Regions from separate parts of the Homo sapiens genome. Here region 2 is linked to region 1. Evidence: promoter capture Hi-C in 16 types of primary human blood cells and fetal thymus (Javierre and others, 2016). All regions are on one chromosome and are shown on one strand. Each heading gives the region's core, a stretch centred on a gene start or on the middle of the fragment in contact. The rest is flanking DNA. Distances are from core to core; before and after follow the strand shown.

What was found. Contacts are between HindIII fragments. The CHiCAGO score rates a contact against its expected background, and 5 or more counts as called.
Region 2: a contact is called between a fragment that was not itself captured here and the fragment with the promoter of SYNCRIP in region 1, in 1 of 17 cell types (total CD4 T cells). The highest score is 5.1, in total CD4 T cells.

Annotation. Positions count from the first base shown.
Region 1 is chr6:85,640,084-85,644,704 of GRCh38, forward strand. It overlaps SYNCRIP (synaptotagmin binding cytoplasmic RNA interacting protein), which reads right to left and starts at 2,803. Exons shown (of 11, transcript NM_006372.5): 1 at 2,714-2,803; 2 at 1,209-1,368; 3 at 363-481; 4 at 138-245. The coding sequence starts at 1,356. RefSeq lists silencers at 1,853-1,902, 2,123-2,272, 2,863-3,882. The HindIII fragment of the contact is 3,992 bases long and covers 438-4,429 here.
Region 2 is chr6:136,278,126-136,283,163 of GRCh38, forward strand. BCLAF1 (BCL2 associated transcription factor 1) reads right to left here. Exons shown (of 13, transcript NM_014739.3): 2 at 4,459-4,562; 3 at 1,638-1,751; 4 at 1-651. The coding sequence starts at 1,741. Among named protein-coding and RNA genes, the nearest start is that of BCLAF1, 9.2 kb to the right of the region's middle. The HindIII fragment of the contact is 1,644 bases long and covers 2,706-4,349 here.

The DNA.
Region 1 (4,621 bases), core at 1,553-4,052:
TAAAAAAAGGAATTAGGAAAGATTGATGAATTATCTCAACATCTAACATACATCCATTTCATACCCAAGGAATATTTACCAAAATTAGGAAACAGTTAAAATGACTTTAAAACTAAAGGGAGTATAGAAAGACATACCTTAATTTTTGCCTCATCTGGTCCTTTACTAGAATCTGCTACTTTGGTCCCTTGTTTTTCTCTCTGCCTGTAAGTCTTCATGACTCCACATAAAAAGGCACTTTTGTTCTGCAAAAAAATGTTCCATTAATATTTAACAATAACCATATCTGAGTCTAATAAAATTCAGCAGATAGTATCAAAACTACTCAAATTTTTTAATTTTCACATTGACATTAACATTACCTGAACATGAGAGAGATCACTGTCTTTAAACTGTTGAAGAACTGCCAATGCACCGTCTTCATTGAATTCTTTTAAAGCTTCAATAGCTCTTTCATCTAAATCACTATGTGCAACTAGCCCTGAAAAAAATAAAAGTTATCAGCTTTTAATATTTTTAGAAAAGATTTTTTAGAGAAGACTATGTTGGCAATACAGGTACATGTGTGCCTTTACAATTCTTCTACTCCCCTCATCTATACCTGAAAAAAAAAAAACACACACTTCAGCCACTCTGAACTGAATCCTGAACTAAATATGCCCTACCAACCACACTTACAATAATCAGCTAACTTCTTTTACATCTTTTATCTCCAAAGTCTGATAACTCTGAACACTACGGTATTTTTACAGTATACAGACTTACGAATCCTAGAATCAACCAACAAAGTACCAAGCATGACAACTGAACCTCTACTCAATTTCAAATACCACCAGAAAAAGTTAACAGCCGCACCAGAAAGACAAGAAAACAAGTCTACAGTTACCAAGTTATTTAAGAAGAATCCTACTATAAAAATACTCAAAAAAGTCACATGGCCTGTTCCCAACATTTAGCAGCTGTTGCTACTATCATATACTTATCCATCAGGCCAGCATGCAAGCCAGCCTTTAGCTCCTAACCTTCTCTTCTTCCCTCCCTCTATACATCTTAACCTCTACTTCAAACTTAAATTAACCAACTATCACAACAAGCAAAACTCCAGTACCCACACTTATTGGAAACCACAAAAAGTTGCTATTTTAGCTCAAAGCCAGAAATCCAATAGAAAAATTTCATAATGTAATTTTGCAAGTGTTAGTTCTTACCTGCAACGTAAATTTCATCTAGTTTTTCAGCAACTTTCTGTGGTAAACCAGCATCAAGCAATGTCTGAAAATTTTCTGAATGGATAACTGCAGAAGTAGTATCCATGGGCTCTTCAGTACCATTTCCATTAACATGTTCTGTAGCCATGTTTCCAGAGATCTGTTCAAACGCAATAAGCAAAATTAAACTAGGATCTTCAAAAAGAATACAAGACAATATGAGAGCCCCATCTTTACTTTCTCTACCATTTACTACACCAGCTAGCCTATACCTCCCTTTAAAAAAGCCTTACAGTCACTATCGCCTGACAAGCCAGATTTGGAGCACAGGGCACAGAAGGACCGATTCACCATATTCTTCCTCAGCACCACCCCTGACTCACCTGCTAACACTCCCTAGGAAAAACCATATTACAAATAGAGCCCAATCAGCACGGGTACGAGCCAGCGTGCCACATGCAGCTGTGCCCGTTCGGAAAATGAGGTGTGTGTGGAGAAAGCAAAACTGGGCTCCTCTCTCTCAAAGATAAACCCCCAAAGTGCGCGCTTTTCCCGCCTGCCGCTTATAGATCGGTAACAACAGCCAGCGAAGAACAAAGCGCTCATACAAGCCACCTTCCCACCACCCAATTTCTCCACCCTTTAACCCCGCACCCCAAAGCCCGCCCCTGACTCCGCACCCAGAGCGGCAGTCTCACCACTGCGGCCGCCAGGAGCCCATTAGAAACACGTGCTCTGCGCCTTCCAATGTCCTACAACTTCCTTCAACGGCAACCCAACGAATCCCAAACCAAGACGACCATCACTGGTTCCCAACATCAACCCGAAGCCGCGGTCGGAGCCCCCAGAAAGCTGCAGCAGCACAATCTCTCCCCTGAACACCGAGGCACCGGCGGCGCCAGGCCACAGGCTCTCCCCGCCCCCCAGCGCCGCCGTCTCCGCCGTGACACATGGCTCTCCGCCCCTGGCGCTCCCCGGGCGCCGACGACCCCCGGCCGCCCGCCCGGCCGAGACGTGACCCGTGGCGCGCTGTGCAGGTCCCCACCCCTTACCCTTCCGTGCAGTGACTGCGACGCCTGCCCGGCAACCCAGCAGCGTGAGGGCGTTCAGCGGACGGCTCAACGCCCGCGGGACCGTGAGCACCGCCCAAGCTCGCCGCACGGCTGCAGGACAAGACCCACTCCTCTCCGCCCACTCCCGCGCCGCGGCGACCGCCACGACAGCACCAACTCTGAAGCCGCTCGCGGTCCGTGCGGGCCACGGGACCGTGGAGGCGCCTCCTCCCAAAGCGCCGCAGACAAAGCCCGAACCGCAGCAGCACATGGAAAGGAGGAAGTGGCGGCGCGGGCCGCGGCCTACTCCCAGGCAGCCCCAGTCAACGTGCTCTTCTCCCCATTGGAATCCATTTTCCAGAAAAGCCGGTTTCTACCCGCGCCACCCTCCCCCAGCTCACTCCACAATGTCATGGAGCTCCCCTCCCACACCCAGGTTCTGGCAGTCGTTACCTCCCCGTTGGGCTGAGGCGGAGAAATCCTGTCCGATGGTATCGGGTTGCGGGAAACGCGTGCTCGCTGCTCCCTGTGTCCGGCGCGAGTGGAGCTGTTGTAAAATGGCGGCCGAAGCTCACGCCGCTGGCAGCAAACCCGATCCAGTTCCACTCGCCTCCGAGCGCGCTCCCGGTGCGCGCGCGCGCCCCCGCGTGACCCCCCCTTCCCTTCCCTTCCCTTCCCTCCCCTCCCTCGCGCGTCCGCTTCACTCACTCCCTCAGCCCCTGCCCTCCTCCAGCTCCTCCTTCTCCCCCTACCACCACCACCACCACTAGCCTCTGTCCGCCTTCTCTCGGCCTTTCTTATTCCCGCCCCCCGCTCCTTTACCCCACTGCTCCCACTCCCCTCTGCGGTCGCTCAGGCACGAGTGGCCGCCTTTCCCCTTCTGGCTCGCACGCTCCCTCACTCCCTCCCTCGCTCGCTCGCACTCTCGGCCCGGTCCCCCAGTCCCTGCCGAGTCGGCTCCTCTCTTTCTCTCTCCCGCGCTGACGTGACAACGTAGCCTACGCCTCGGGACGCGCGCCCGCGGGCTCCGCCCCCACGCCGCGCCGCCTTCCCCGCTCCTCACCCCTTGGGTTGGGGGTGGGGGAGGCACAAGACCCCGCCCTTCCGCTCCGACGGTGGCGGCCGAGGGGCCGAGACTGAATGAAAGGCCCGCCCCTTCCCCTCCCGACACTCCCCCTCCCTCTCCCCTCCAGGCGGGGCGGGCCGGCTCAGCGTGTCCCACTCGTTTTCCTTTGTCAGGAGACTGGCATCTCCCCACCCCGCCCCACCCCACCCCCTCCCCGCGACACCATGCGCACGCCACCCCCACCGAGCTCCCGCCCGCCCCATCCCTGCCCGGTCCGGGGCTGGCGGGGCAGAGTGCTGTGGGCGCTGAGTGCGACTGCCGCTTCCCGGAGGGCACCCACCGGTCTGTGCGCGCCCGGCCCCCGCCCCCGGCTCCGCGGCCGCGTAGCCGTTCCAGGCGGTGTCCACGCCGCTGCCACCGCCCCGCGCTCTCCTCCTCGGGAAGCTGCAGGCGCACGTGTCCCCCGGGGCGGGGCGAGGCAGACAATGGGGCCAAGGGGGAGGGGAGCGGCGCGGAGACCCGCGGACCTTTGGTCCGCCGGACTGGCGGTACTCGAGTGCGAGAGTCGCCCTTGGAGACTCGATCTCCCCAACTGGACAGTGGGCCCTCCTCGCAGCCGCGCGGCTCCGCTTTCACGGGAACCTTCGGCGAAGGGAGGGGCGCCCCAGGCTTGGACGCGGAAACCCCGGCTGCTTTTGAAGGGGGAACGGGGCTGGCTCCAGTGGAGCGAGGAGCGGCTCCTGCCTTGGGATGACACGAAGGCCAGATTTGGAAGCGAAACCGCCCGGTGGTGAAGGGTTGTGCAATACTCCGTTTCAGTCCCTGGCCTTTTAAGCAGTTAAGGGCTTCCTCCTGGCACAGTTTGAGCAACTTGAAACAGCACAAAGCTGCGTGGTTAGAACAACTTTGAGAAAAATGTCTGTGTTTCTTTTAAAAAAAACCTTGGCAACTAAATCTTCTGTGAAATGACGTTTCCTTTATAATCGTTTACTAGGTACAAGAAAGACAAGACAAAGGCATTTGAATTACAGACGCGATATGGATACTAATTTTATCCAGGGCAGCTGTAATGAAAAATAGAAACAATGTCCTTTTGATTAAAAAGCTTATTTTTAAGAGCTTACTGGTTCCCCAGATGAGCTCTGTGCTATGATAACAAATCAGTGGTTTGAGGAAAAGTTAGATAAACACTCTTCAAAGTGCACAAGCACATAAAATGCTAGATTATTTTCATAGCTACTTGGATCAGATATGAAGTATGTTTTAGCCAAAGCACCACATAGCCAACCTGTTTA
Region 2 (5,038 bases), core at 2,278-4,777, about 51 Mb after region 1:
TGAACTGTACTGAGCATGGGAGCATCAGAGCAAGATGAACTCTGACTAGGTGGTGTAGCAATAGGTGAAGGACTATGGGGTGATCTAGGACTATTATCATAAGCTGAAAGGCCAGGCCAAATATCACCGGATGTGGCTGATGACTTATTAAATTCATCGATAGACTCAGATGGGTCATGTTCAAATGTATCTTTCGGTTCCTCCTGTGATTTACTTTTCAACGGACTCTCTTCTTGGGGTTCCCCTTCAGCTTTTTTGGTTTGTTTTTCCTGAGACCCTCGTCTTTTAGAAACAGGAGATTTGCTATATGGGGATGAAGAACGAGAAGAGGATGATCTTGGAGACCTAGAAGATCTATATGACCGGCGAGATCTGCTTCTGGATCTTTGAGAAGAAACGGATCTTCTTTTTGGACTCCTGGAACGTGAACGACCTCGTCTAGGACTCCTAGAGTGCCTTCTATTCCAGACAGGTCTATAACCACCTCGATGATATCTACCTCCTCCTCCTTGATAATACCCTCTACCCCTTCCTCTGTACCCATAAGGTCGTCTCATTCCTCTATTATTTCTGTAATCGCGACGATAATCTCTAGAATACATACGATCTCTACTACGAGACCTTGAATATGTTCTGGAACGAGACCTAGAACTAAAAATGAAATAAATATCAATGCAAGAAAAATAAAGTATTCCATGCTACCATTCTAAATACTCTGGTTGAATATAACATGTAAATAAACAGTAAAGGCAAAAATACACTTTTTTAAAAAACTCATCTGTACAAAAGTTAATGGTTTCCAATCAAAAAGCCTCACTAAGGTAAATACTGAGAGAATACCTTAAAGACCTTACAAATGAAGGCACAAAACACACACACACACACACACACACACACACACGCATGTGTTATATATATCACATGCATTAGGACATATTAGCAAATTGTAGTACCTCTAGGCAAGCACTTAAATTGATGTTGTAAAAGAATATTTAATGGCATGGCATAATATATAGTTAAATGGGGGAAAAGATTACAAAAAACTATCAGTGAGATACTATTAATTAAATACATACATAATATAAAGTTAAGCCTGGTGGGGGAAAAAGAATGAGCATCAACTACTATTAATTCTTAATGGTATTATGGTCATTTGTATTTTCAACTTCTGGTTTCTGTTTTCTATGCTAAGTATGTATTACTATTTTAACAAAAATAACCAGAGTTGTTAATTTTTTTAACAAAAAAAATTATTTTGTTAGAATTCAAAGATTCACAGTCAGAAATGAGAAACTATAAAACAATATGCAGAGATTGTTTACTGTCAAATTCTTGCATTACCCAATTCATCTCTTAACATTGTGGACAAATACAAAGAAACCTACCATACATTATACAGTAAAATTTGAGACCTGGAGTCAGACTAACTGGATTTCAATCCAAGCTCTGCCATTTACTAGAGCTTGTTACCTGGACATTCTCATTTTCTCGCTTACAATAAGGATAACAATAGATCCATTTCACAGGGTTCTTTGAGAATAAAATACATTTTGGGGTTTAGCACTGTGTTTACGATACTCATTCAACAAGTATTAACTGATATAATTATTTTAAAAATTTAAAGCACATTAAATCACCTGTATCGCTTCTTTCTAGAATGAGATCTTGATCTTGATCGAGAACTAGACTGTGATCTAGACTTTGACCTTGAAGAATGTGATCTAGAATTGGAGCGACCCATTTCTTTTCTCCTAATCAAATGATAGGGCAAAAAAAGGTTAAAATTACAATATGATATTTAAAATTTTACATTATTACTTATTTTCAGATAAAATTTGATTTTTACAAGTTTCTCAAAGGCTATTATTCACCATCCTTTTCAAATCAGTATTCAGAAGACAAGTCAATTATCCCTGACTAAAACTGTTTTCACCTGCATGACAGGTACTGTCGATTAAAGACACAACTGAAGATTTTTACGGACTGCCCCACTTATGAGCCTCAATCCTAAAAGGCAGCAGCTGCAGAAGCCAGAAAAAGCAATGAGACTGCAGCAGCATGTTATGTGTTATTCCACGCCCAATACAAATGCCTACCCCTCCTGTAAGAAAGATAAATAATAAAGGTACTACAGATAAGGCAACTGAAATAAAATAAAGTGTCACAATACTAACAAAAAATAAACCTACCAGGCTGTTATCATAGTGCTTTATGGCCTTGAAAATGAGACTGAACTGACCACTCCATATACACAATCCTGTCTGGAGTGGTACTAGATAGTATCCTAGAACAATACAGGACACTAAGTTTCTAAACAGCTGGAGCCATGGCTCTGCTCTCAGTACTCATGACTCCAGAATAAAGTGGACTTATGTGACAATGCCTAGTTCACCCTGAAGCTTTCTGTTAAGAAGATTTAAAAAGAATAAAAGATAAAGAATTGGAGGGATTACTTCAAGAAAGATTTATTAGAACTACAAGAAAAAAAAAACTTGGGCACCAGTAGTTTAACTTTTCTAAACACTACATGGTATCCAATGCTATAATTAGACCTCATTGGGTACAGAAATCAGTAACTGTCAAAACTAATTGATTTATAAGATCTACTAATTGAAAAAACATACACATATAGCAAATCACTGCATGCATATCCCAAATGTCACATTTTCAACTTTTCAATGATTAGATTATATCTTAGCCTCTCAAGCTTGTTTTTGCTGCATAGAACTATTTCCAAATTTACACTAACTTACTCAAAAAGTATTCATTTCAATAAAAATCAACTTACTAAACTTCTAACACCTTGCAATTCCCATAATACTTAAATAGTATCTCCTACAACCAAGTATTTTTGAAGGCACTTTTTTACCTACCTAGACTTTGTTCGGTATAATAAAATAGTATTTGGAGGTACTAAGATGAGTTCAGTTATAGAAGAAGTAATGGTAATACTTGGATAGTTCCTCATCAAGCAATATAAATAACAAATTCAAGATGTTTGAGATAAATGCTTATTTCAAAATAAAACATAACTATCCTCTAATAGACTACCACCTTTGTCTTCTCTCACTCTTCTTCTCAATCCCAAGTAAGCAAGAAATACATAAAGACAGAAACAAAACATAGGTTCAGGGTTCAAAAAGGCAAAGTAAGAATTCCACAACACATAAGAAATAAATTTAGCATTAACATAAGGAGATCTGACACCTTGTAGAACACAAATTTGGTTTAGCAACTGTAGTTTTGACAACATAATGAAATTGGCAAAAACCACATTTACAGCCTGTAAAGGAAGGAATCTTGGCCACGGGGAACTGTGACATTCTCTTGCATCTGATTTCAAAATTCTGTCCCTCCCAAAGTTTTTAAAAGAATATAAATACGTAATTTACATTCATTCTGATCGAATTTACTTCAAGATATTTATTTTTATCCCACTCTGAGATAATCAGACACACTATAAAAAGAAACCAGAGCTGCAAATGATTTTGGAGATCCAGTCCAGCAATAAGACAACATCCTTTTTCATTGTACTAATCAGTAAATAAAACACTATTTTACTAAGAGCTACAGATGCTGTGTTGTGCTGTATCTCCAGAATCTCTGTTCTTTGCTCTTGAGGCTTTTTGGATGGTAATTTCTGTTAAAGGATTCAGGAATTCTGTAGGCTTTTTCAGTCACCAGGATGTAGCTGGGCTTGTGGCACACGAGCACAACAGGTATTTAATAAATAACTATAAAATGAATGCATTCCCCAGAACCTGGACATTTTTTAAAGCAGCAAGTTCATTTTTAAAGGTTTGCGTTTTGCTTTAAGCTACACCTGAAACTTCAAAAACTAACGGAAAGAAAGCATGCCTATCAAATAGTTAGCAGTCCAAAAGAAATGGATTGATATCTTCTGCTCTACTGCAAAAACAGGGAAAAAGCTAAGAACATGGTCTCTGCATTTAAACTACATGAATTCAAATTCCTTAAGCTCTCTGAGCCTGTTCCTCAACTGTAAAACGAAGAAAATAACAGTACCTACTTCACAGACTTGTAGTGGACTTAATGAGTTGATGAACTTAATTCACTTAATACATCTAACACATTAGCAATCAATTTGAATTACCTAAACACTACAGTAGAGAGAAACAAGTTATGAATCTCCTCTTGTTTACATTAGGGAAATGGGTTAAGTAGCAGTCTTTCTATCTTGTATGTCCTGAGTCTTTTAGTAGATGTGTTTATAGAAATAGAAAAAGCAGGAGCACAACCTGGAAGAAGACAGAAAAAGAACCTTTTTCCTAAAACTAACTTAACATCTGACTTACTTCATACAAGCCACCAAAATAAACAAAAAACAAAGCTTCGGACCACATCATTTTTAATCACTCCATCTGAATCATCAATTCAGTAGTGACATTTCCTCAAAAAAGTCAAAAGTGAAAACTAGAAAAATGAATGCTCTTTTACCTTGGTTTTATGCAGGATCAAGAAGTCAAGTGAAGTCTTTGAGATACTGTAAAAATTCTTCCTGGAGAGAATGCTCTGAGAAATTAAACTCTAAATTCGAATTCCTAGCAAAGACAAAAAAACCATTATTGTGATTTATGTTAAATTAAATAACCATTATTTACAATGCATATAATGGGCACTGCCATAAACTCTAATAAACGCACTTACAATTTCAGGGAAGGAAAAACTAATTCAGGAAATAGGAAACTTTTAACCGTAAAAGCTTAAAATTCAACTTTTTTGTAAACCACAATGCAGTAGCGTATCATGAAACTGACAGCATCTTTTTAACTACTTGAATTCTAATTTTAGTAATTTGAGCCTTAAAAAACATATGATATGTCGTTCCATCAGAAAATTCCAACGTAGCTAACATAATGCCATCTTGGTAGCGGGGCAAGGTAGCACAAGCCTGTAGTCCCAGCTACTTGGGAGGCTGATGCAGAAGGATCACTTGAGCCCAGGAGTTTGACACTGCAATGCACTGTGATCACACCTGTGACTAGCCTTGGCAACACACTCTAGCCTTGGCAACACA